3 separate regions of the Homo sapiens genome follow, and regions 2 and 3 are each linked to region 1. Evidence: promoter capture Hi-C in 16 types of primary human blood cells and fetal thymus (Javierre and others, 2016). All regions are on one chromosome and are shown on one strand. The core of a region is centred on a gene start or on the middle of the fragment in contact, and the rest is flanking DNA. Distances in the headings are between cores, read along the strand shown.

The links. Contacts are between HindIII fragments. The CHiCAGO score rates a contact against its expected background, and 5 or more counts as called.
Region 2: a fragment that was not itself captured here is called in contact with the fragment with the promoter of EPS8L3 in region 1 in 2 of 17 cell types (neutrophils and monocytes); the score reaches 7.9 in neutrophils.
Region 3: a contact is called between a fragment that was not itself captured here and the fragment with the promoter of EPS8L3 in region 1, in 11 of 17 cell types (M0 macrophages, M1 macrophages, erythroblasts and 8 more). The highest score is 13.2, in M0 macrophages.

Annotation. Positions count from the first base shown.
Region 1 is chr1:109,762,314-109,765,566 of GRCh38, forward strand. It overlaps EPS8L3 (EPS8 signaling adaptor L3), which reads right to left and starts at 1,610. Exons shown (of 19, transcript NM_133181.4): 1 at 1,509-1,610. All of the region lies in intron 1 of LOC124904258 (a long non-coding RNA gene), which reads left to right. The HindIII fragment of the contact is 2,750 bases long and covers 511-3,253 here.
Region 2 is chr1:109,994,879-109,998,131 of GRCh38, forward strand. All of the region lies in intron 1 of AHCYL1 (adenosylhomocysteinase like 1), which reads left to right. Among named protein-coding and RNA genes, the nearest start is that of AHCYL1, 12 kb to the left of the region's middle. The HindIII fragment of the contact is 8,580 bases long and covers 1-3,253 here.
Region 3 is chr1:109,534,665-109,537,917 of GRCh38, forward strand. No RefSeq gene overlaps it. Among named protein-coding and RNA genes, the nearest start is that of GPR61, 3.6 kb to the right of the region's middle. The HindIII fragment of the contact is 1,965 bases long and covers 461-2,425 here.

The sequences.
Region 1 (3,253 bases), core at 360-2,859:
TCGCCAGTGAGCTGACCTCCCCCAAGTGTCTCCCTAGGCCTCCTGGCTCTTTGCTTTTTGTACTCTGTATCCTCTGCCCAGGTCCCCTCCTGACCCCAACCCTTTAAATTCTAGCTCAAAGATCACCCTCTTGGTGAAGCCCTCCTGGACCATCCAACCCCACCCTGCCCAGGGTACCCTCCTAATGCTGCACTGGACCTTGTACATTTATCTCCAGCAACAATAGTCACAATAGCCACCACGGTGCTGTGAGCCTGGTGCTGAGCCCCTTACCAACATCCTATCAGTTTCTCCTCACTGCCGTCCACTTGTACTTACTTGGCGCCACGTGCCTAGCACTGTTCTAACGGCGTTACCTTCAGTCACTCTAATCCTCAAAACAACCTCACAAGGCAGGTACTGGTATTGTCCCCATTTACCATATGAGGACTCTGAGGCTCAAAGACGGTAACAGGCCTGAGGTCACAAATGAACGTTTAATAGAGAGCAACCCAGATCTGTCCGATTGCAAGCTTCGTGTTTTAATGGTTTATAAACATGCCTCTGCCGCTGGGCTGTGCGCAGTCACAGAGGGAGTCTAGAGAACATACATGTTGAAATGGAGTGGAATTAAATGTGGTGTGTGTGTCCCGGGTGGGGGTGGTGTTAGTCTGTGCGGGTCAAGGGTATGTGTTATCCAAATGAGGTTTGTGGGTATCCACATGTCTACATGGTACACCTCAGTTGTGCAGAAATACTGGACTACCCCGGGTAACATGTGAGAGAGCAACCCATACCCTTGTTTATTAGGACTGTTGTGAAAATGACGTAGGATCTGATAAGATGACTCAGTGTGGAAGGAAATAAACTGCCAGTGAACAATTAAGGGAATGTGGAAGGGACGGCTGGATCTCTGGTTTCCTTGTTTGGGAGGACCCCTTTTCTCTCCAGGGGTAAGGCGGGGCTAGAAGCCTGTTCCCCTTCCCCAGCCTCCCCCAACCCCCATTGTAACACTTCCTGCTTCTCCATGCTCTCCATGCAGAAGAGGAAGTGAGGTCTGCCCCTGGTCAGCCCCACTCCCCACTCCCTCAACACCAGGGTGGGCCCTGTGGGGCCCTCTAGGTAGGTAGGTCAAGGTGGGGAAACAGCTGCAGCCAAAGATTCCCTACCCCAGGGAGGGAAGAGGGAGCTGGCTTGGCCTGCCTTGCCCCTTAGGGGTAGGGGAGCTGTGACAGCCCATTTCCCCCCTTTAAGCCCTAGATGTAGGGGTTTGGAGCAGGGAAGGCCATCACCTCATAGACCCTGGGGCAAGCATCCCAGAGGCCCTTCCGGAGCCTGGACCTCGCTCTGCTTTCCAGCCCACCAGCCAGCTGCTGAGTCCCAAGCCCCTCCTTGGGCTTGATCCCCTGGGCTGCAGCTGGGAACAGGCTGGAGACCTGGCCTGGGAAGCCACTGAGTTGCCCCCACCTGCCCTGAGATCCCCTGTGACTGGGCTGGGCCCCGATCTTCCCTGGGGGCCAGGCCCTTACCTGGGTGCCAGTGAAGGCCGGGTGCCTGGTCCCCCCAGGAGGCTGGTCTTGGAGCAGGTGGTCCGGTGCTGGTGGTGGAAGGACAGCAGCTTCTCTGCTAGTGGCCACAGGCAGAGCCTGCCTTTGATGAGGTTACAGAGGCAGCCACGCCTGTGCTCTTTGGACTCTGGTGGGTGGGGAGGCTTCCTGGTCACTAACCGCTCAACATCAACCTGGACCTGCGGCAGTGTCTGTGCTGACTGGCGTCCCCAGCTTAGCTAGAGGCCCCTGCTTCCCTGTTTCCCCCACTGCTAGCCTTGGGGTGTGGCCCCCTCTTCCCTCTGCCTTTTAGGTGCCTACTCTGGGGAACAGGTCAGCATCAGGCACGGGGCTGGGACCAGAAGAAGAGAGCACACATGGCCCAGAGTCTGGGTTCTGTGGTGAGGGCACAGGTCGGCTGGAGGTGGACTCCAGGCTTGGGGGAAGCTGTGGGCTGGCGTGTGTGCCATGCCTGTGCGTGGGTGGCACCCATAGGTGTGTGATCCTGTGTACCTGGGTGGTGCCTGTGAGCAGGACATGGATCTTGTCACAGAAGATGGGGACTGAGGCCCCTGGGGCATTACATGGAGCGCTGAGATTCCCTCTGGCAGGGCCCTCATTCTGTCCCTACTGTTGTCCCTTCCAGCAGGAGCCCCCTTACCAGCCCTTTCTCGCTCTTCCACTCTCTTTCCTTCTGTACCCCATCTTGTGCCCAGACCCCTGGTGGACGCCTGGCCAGCTTCAGCAAAGATGGAAAACGGAGGCCTGCATCTATCTCTAGTCATAAACCTACCCACTTCCTGCACTCCATGGTATCGAAAAATCTTTCTTGGCACTCAGAGTGGGCCAGGCTCCCCTGCCCTCTGGGAACTCACAGTCTAACCAACAAGGCCAGGTATAAACAGAAACCAGGGAGCAGGGCAGGAGGGGAGGCGGGGGCGGGGGAGTGCCAGTGAGCCTCGGACCCTCGTGGGCAGAATGCAGGGTCCCGGTGCTGGGCCCTGTGATGGAGTGTCCTGTGGAGTCTGAGGGCTGGAGCACTCCCATCTTTAGCTTCCCTGGAACTATCCCAGGATATCTCAGCCTTCTCTCCCATCACCACCCAACCAACGCTGCCCTGGATGGCCTGGAGTCCATGCGTCAGATCCTAGGGAGGTGCCTTCCCTGTCTGGGCTGTGTGTGTCCCTGGGAGAGTCCAGTGGACAGCCAGCTGCTGGGGCCCAGGGATCAGGTGCCTGTGAGGCCAGCACCCAGCCACAGCCCCATGGGAAGCAGTCCTGGGGTTCTTTCCCCTGGGTCCCCATCTTGTGGCCCTTCAGCTTCTTTTGGGATAGCACAGCCTGTCCCCTCGTTGCCTCCCCCAACTCCGTGAAGGCCACAGTCATATTTCACCCCAGCCCTGGCTTGGGGCTCAGGCAACACCTCATTTCTGCCCAGCTCAGGCCAGGCCCGTCCTTCCCATAGGACCCTCCCCAAGTCAGTGTGAGCACAGCAGGGACTCCTGGGGGGGCTCTGGGGCAAGGTGGGCAGGGGCAGAGAAACAATGAGTGGCATTCCCAGCACCTTGCCCTCTGCAGTGCCCTTTAGGGGTGCCCCTGGGAGCAGTGTGTGTCTCCTCAGACATAAAGCCTTTGTGGCCTTGGTGGGTCTGGGGCTTGGGGCCAGGTATTGGGGACATCTGCTTCTGTGGAGCCCCCTGAGGGAAGAGGGAAATCAGGAAAGAGGGA
Region 2 (3,253 bases), core at 194-2,693, 230 kb after region 1:
GTAGCTGCTGTAGAATCTGTTTACTTCAGGTTTGTAACAGAAAAGAGACCAAGCTGGTTGGGAACATGGTGTTCTCAGTGTAATAAGATGTATTGTAAGTCCAAGGAAAATGCATCTTGGTGGGGCTGACCTTATTGCACCCCTTCCCCAAGATTTCCCGGAGAGAAACATTATTCTGGGGATAGTTTCTGTTCTTGTTTGCCAATCAATAATGAATTGAGGTTGGCAAAGGCTGGGTTTTTAGTGGAAGTGGGGTAAAGCATGTTTACAAATCATAAAGTTTAGAAGGAGAACACCTGTGTTAAGCACCTTATTTCTCTACCTAGTTTATAATTAGGAGGGGATGGTTGATGAGATTAGTTTCGGCCCTTGCATTCAGGAGGTGGAGCCCCTCCTATTTGGGGAGCAGGGGGTTCATAATTCTGTACATTCTTTTCTTACTCCGCAGCGAGGGGATTAGCTGAGCACTGGGCATGTCTGGAATGAGAGCACTTTGCCAATTTTTACTGAATTTGGACCAAACTAATAAAAATACAATCTCGGTCTTCCTCAGACAGTCTCTTTGTCATGTTCTCCTAACCCCTAGGATCCATCTGATGGATTGTCTGTTCCTAACAGATGGAGTTGGCATTAAAGGTAGATTCTCTACTTCCTTTGCCTTATTGTTTTATTTCTGAACAAGGCATATCTAATGCATTTGTTCCCTGTATTGGAAGTTGCTTTATCAAGAGCCTAGTAAACTCAGTGTACTTGTGTTTCCTTTTCAGATCCTGCTTAGATTATTTCTTAGATCAGCACTTCTCATTCTGTGGAAGGAGAAGAAGGTATCAGTCACATAGAGGGTTTTTTCGCAATAACTCATTACCTGGCTCTAAACTAGAGCTGTGTAATCAGAATGGGGGAGGAGCTGAGAGTAAGAGAACAGATGGAGAATGGGTTGGCATTTTGAAACAGCTTCACCAGATAAACTTGAAATCTCCCAGATTTAGAACCATTCTTTTAGATTATCTAGCAAGACTGGCCAACATTGTTCGGAAATCTAACATTGAGATGGTAATGGCCCAGGCACGGTGGCTCACGCCTGTAATCCCAACACTTTGGGAGGCCAAGGCAGGCAGATCACCTCAGGTCAGGAGTTCGAGACCAGCCTGGCCAACATCTCTACTAAAAATACAAAAATTAGCCGGGTGTGGTAGCAGGTGCCTGTAGTCCCAGCTACACAGAAGGCTGAGGCAGGAAAATCGCTTGAACCCATGGGGCGGAGCAGGTTGCAGTGAGCCGAGATGGCATGACTACACTCCAGCCTGGGCAACAGAGCAAGACTATGTCTCAAAAAAGAAAAAAAGATGGTAATGCAGCTACCAACTCTCCTGGATGATTTTGATCACGAGGAGAAATCTTGGTCCTCCCTCATGTGAAAGGTCCTGAAAATAGTCTACCGTTGCTCTTTTTCTCAATGTATTCAGAGTAAACCATGACCAGGAATCATGTAGCCCCATCTGCTCAGGGTGCAGCGTCCCAGGGCCTGTGCTAGGCACTTAGGGTGCATCAGTGAACAAAACAAAGATTCATACTCTGTAGAGCTGACATTCTTGTGAGGTTATTATTTGGATCATTTAAGTCCAGTGAAGTGGTTCTTAACCATTGGGGGTTTGGAACCCTCTGAGAGATGTGTACGTATTCCAGCAAAATGCACACAGTCATGTGTCACTTAACAAGGGGGATACATTCTGTAAACTGTGCCCTTAGGCAATTTTGTTGTTGTGCAAACGTCAGAGAGACTTTAAATGACTGGCAACGCAGTAGGTTTGTTACACCAGCATCACCACAAACATGTGAGTAATGCACTGCACTACGATGTCACCAGGCGATAGGAATTTTTCAGCTCTATCATATTCTTATGGAACCACCACTGTATATGTGGTCCATCATTGACCAACCTTCATTACACAGCACAGGACCTTGTAAGGGGGAATTGGCAGCCTGCAACCCATCCATGGACCCAGGGCTAAGAACCTAGAAGACTTGTCTAGATTTGAGGATGTGGTGATTGGGATAAAGCCAGGCCCTGAATTGGGTGTTTGGAACCATTATCTCCTCGCCAGACTGGGTTGTAGTTTCTTGATCTGTACAGCCAAAGCAGTATGTAAACAACTCAAGGATATCACTAGAAAAAGAGGGAATGGCTAAGCCTTCTCTAAGCTAAAGAGTCTATGTTTTATGTGAAATGCTAAGAATGATTCTGACTCTGTTCTCCCTCTTACCCTAGTTTCTAGTTGGCTGGGCTTCTGGTGCTCAATAGATTAAAAGTCAAGTCAGAATAAGAATTTCCCTAATGTGCTAATTTATGTTATGAATTCCTAGACTGAGAGTGATAGTAAAGTTATAAAGATCATGAGGACATTTTAGTGAAATTCTGGCTTCAAAAACACAGAAAGTGACAGGAGTTGAAGGGCTGTTGAAATAGCCAGAGTAGAGATTAGAGAAAGATGACAGGAAGAAAAGGAGGGCAGAACTCAGACAGTCAACTAAGCTGGTGAGCCAGTAGCCAGGAGAGCAGCTTTCTCCTTAAGCCAAAGTGAGCAGATCTGAGACTCATGCAGAAAAATACTCCTTTTTGGTCTTGAAGGGGTCTGTCACTGTTGCTTTGTTACCAAATAGTACCCGGGATAAAAAGCGGGACGGCAGATAAGGGTTTGCCTTAACATTTATACCAACGTTAATATATCTCTGTTGCTGGAAAAGTTGGTGTTAAACTTGAAAGAATGGCCAAACCCTGCCTGAGGGTTAGTGCAGTGTGTAACGCGTACTGCAGAAACATGAATGAAATGGGACACTGGGAGAGAGAATTATGTAGAAAGACACAGCCGGATTTAGAGGTTGGAGCACATAGAGTCCTGTGCTAGTTCCACCTTTACCTCCCTGAAATCTGATCTTTAGTATAACCACAGGTCAAGACCTCTTTACTTTAGGTTGATCTTTACAGGGATATCTAAGGGAAACTTTCCATATGCACACTGGAAGATAGCTGAATAAGGGCTGTGTTCAGGCTAAACTTGTATAAACTCATCTCATTAGAGAACAGAGCCCACAGTCCTCCCCAGAGGAGTGAGGAGGCTCTAGATGGTTCCAGTTATAACTGCTCTCCAGCATATGGAAAAACTGTTCTGCTATGAAACCTTCCAACCAGCTACTCACATAAAGACATTTCATTGTTTGCTCAGTGATGCATTAAAGCTGAGGCTGCCTAAGC
Region 3 (3,253 bases), core at 193-2,692, 230 kb before region 1:
CAATAAACATGTCTTGAATGGAGTGACATAGAGCCTGCAGTTTGGGCTGCTAGGAGCTGAAGGAGGTGGGAATAGGGTGCTCCCAGGCTTCAGGAGACCATAGGAATGTACTCAAAATGGGGAGACAAGGACAGTACAGAGGTAAGTGGGGTGTCTGGGCCTTCTCAGAACCTTGCTGGGGAGGAGGAGCTGAAGAAAACAGACAGCTGGGAGGTCCTAGGGATATGGTGGGTTGAGGAAGGGCCCCAGGAACCCAAATGTGCGCCATTAATGACAAGCTGAAAAAAGGAGCAGGACTCCGGAGGCTTGGGTTCTGGTTGCACCTCCTTTACCCTCTAGCTGTGTAGCCTAGCCCTGGGCAAGTTCCCTTTCCACTCTAGGCCTGTTCATCTGTAAAATCAGGAGTTAGACACCTGACCTCCTGTGATCCTTTCAGCTTTGCTACTCTGGCCCTATGTCAAGCTTCTGAAGCAGGGTTGTGCTGAGCAGTGGGGATTTGTGTCTGCCTCCCCAGGCTTCAGCACCGGGGATGACCCCACCCAGGTCCTGGACAGTATTTCCCAGAGAAGGGGACAGAGCCCAAAGCCATGGGGAAGGAGGTACGTGGCCTGGGTAAGCTGCGTCCTGGCTTGGAGGATGTGAAAGAAGTTCCAGGGGGAGATAACTCCCCTCCAATTCAGAGCAATTAAAGTGCCAAGTTTTCAGGCCCCAGGGAAGGGTTTTGGGGAACTCCCCTTTCCATAACTGTGCTTCCCTGTCTTCTTCCTTGCCTCATCCCCATAGTATAGATCTGGGGTTTGAACCCCAGTTGCTCAACTGTGTGGCTCTGCAAAAGTCACTTAACCTCTCTAAGCCCCAGTGTCCATATCTGTAAATGGAATCATTGAGACTAACAGAGAAGATTGTGTAAGACTACTCACACGAATACGCCTAGTGCTGTGCCTACTGCCAGAGCTCCCTTCCCGAGTCTGGAAAAGGACTGTTAGGGCAGATGGCCCCCAGGCCACAGGGCAAATGACTAATTCGCTTTGCCCATGCACTGGGTGTAGGGCAGGGCCTGTGGAGGGACAGGCTGATGATGGGAAGGTTGGATGGGAAGAACATGCAGAGGATATTACCCTGATTGCTAGTGAGGAAGGGCCACTCAACCTGTAGACCTATTTATTGTGTTATTAATAAATAGGAGACCCAGGAGCTCTCTGGGACTTTTCTGTGGGGTTCCAGCATTGAGCCCCTGCTGATGGACAGGAGGTGGGCAGCATGGGAAGGGCCCTGGTCCATAGCAGGCCTGGCCTAAACATGCACTGTGGGTGTTCCTGCCACTCTTTTGAGCCTGGTTCATCCGAGGCCCCCAGTTTCTAATCTGGTTGGGAAGGATTTATTTTTGGGTCCCTGTAACCTAGCAATGGGCTCACATGACCAGTGGCAGCTGCAGGCTGAATATACCATTGGATCTCAGCTCCTGGCAGGGGGTGTAGGCCAGACAGTGGGGGAATAAAGAGAATGGAAGGGCTCTCACCTCTGCTTTCCTCTGCCTCCCTCCTCAGCCCCTTGGCCTGGCTCCCAGATGCTGGGCAGGGTGAGGTGAGTGCTTGGAAAGCAGGCATGGCTGGTGCTGGTACAGGGGGGCCCCAGGAAGCCAGGAACTGAGCTGTGGTGTGGAGGTCCCAGCTGTAAGCCTGCTGTCTGGTTGGCAGGGGCGGGGGGGTTGGGTGCCCATGCGGATGGAGGTGGATGCCAAGAGGACACAATGCCAGCAGCTTGGCGGGGGAGGCCTGGCTAGGGAGTAGGCGGCTGACAGGCAGTCTATGTTGTGGGATCTCAGGGACATCCCTGGTCGATGCTGGAATCCCAACGTTCTGCTTCTTCTCTTTGTTCCCTGTTAAATTGTTAATATTCCTGGGAAAGAACACATTAAGTTGCTATCAGTGCAAATGGGTTTATCAACCTCTTTCCTGAGAGCAGATTCTGACACAAGGCAGAGAAGGAGGGTAGTGGGTGCCACTGAGCAGGCAAGGGGCTCTAGGGAGGGGGCAGTGGCAACATAAGAAGTCTTCAATGTTTATTGAAGAAGTGGATGGATGAATGAAAGATAAACTTGATTGGCTTCCAGGTCTCATCCTGGGGCAGAAAAGGGTGGATGGGCAGACACGACCCTGTCACGAGGTGCTGGTGCACAAGGGTTGGGTAAAACTGTACCAGGGAGCAAGTCTAGGATGCAAAGATCAGTCCTCAGCAGCAAGGGCCCTGCCATGATACCAAGGGAAGGGGTGCCACTGTTGGAAACAGGGCCTGGTCCCCGTCCTGTAACAGGATTCCCTTCCTGGGTGTGTGCACAGCATAGTGAGCCATGGATCTCTTATGTGGTTTGGGGGATCACACTCAGTTTCTCCATCTTGGTCTTCTTGCCCCCTCCATTGTGCTAAGCTTTACTAAAAGGAGGGACTGGCAGGTGGGGTTGGGGGTGTGCTGTCAGTAGCTACTCCACACCCTGACTGAGATCATTTAATAAGATACAGCATAAGAAGTGCCTCCCAAAGTGGGCCTTCAAGAACTAGTAGCATTATTATTATTATTATTTATTATTATTATTTTTTGAGACAGAGTCTCACTCTTATTGCCCAGGCTGGAGTGCAATGGTGCGATCTCAGATCACTGCAACCTCCACCTCCTGGGTTCAAGCGATTCTCCTGCCTCAGCCTCCTGAGTAGCTGGGATTACAGGCATGTGTCACCATGCCTAGCTAATTTTTGTATTTTTAGTAGAGACGGGGTTTCGCCATGTTGGCCAGGCTGGTCTTGAACTCCTGATCTCAAATCATCTGCCCGCCTCAGCCTCCCAAAGTGCTGGAATTACAGGCGTGAGCCACTGTGCCCAGCCAGCATGATTATTATTATTATTTATTATTTGCCCACAGGCTAGAATAAGCAGTTCCCCCGCCGACCTCCTGAGCCAAGATGGTTCCAACAGCTGGAACATGCTGCCTCTTTGGTACTGCCTTTCCCAATAGCTCTCTGGGAGGGGCTTCAGGACACGGACGCCTTGCCTGCTGGCCACCACATGAGCTGTGATTACCTGTGCTAGCTCCCTGAAGCTGGAGAGGCAGGCTATGTTTGTTTTGCAGGCTCCCTACCACTATTAGATAAGCTTGGAAGTGAAGAATTTTGCCCATTTTCACAGACAGCCAACTCACAGGCCAAGGTCTTACCACCAACCAATAGAATGGCGCCAAACTGGAACCAAGGTTTTCTGA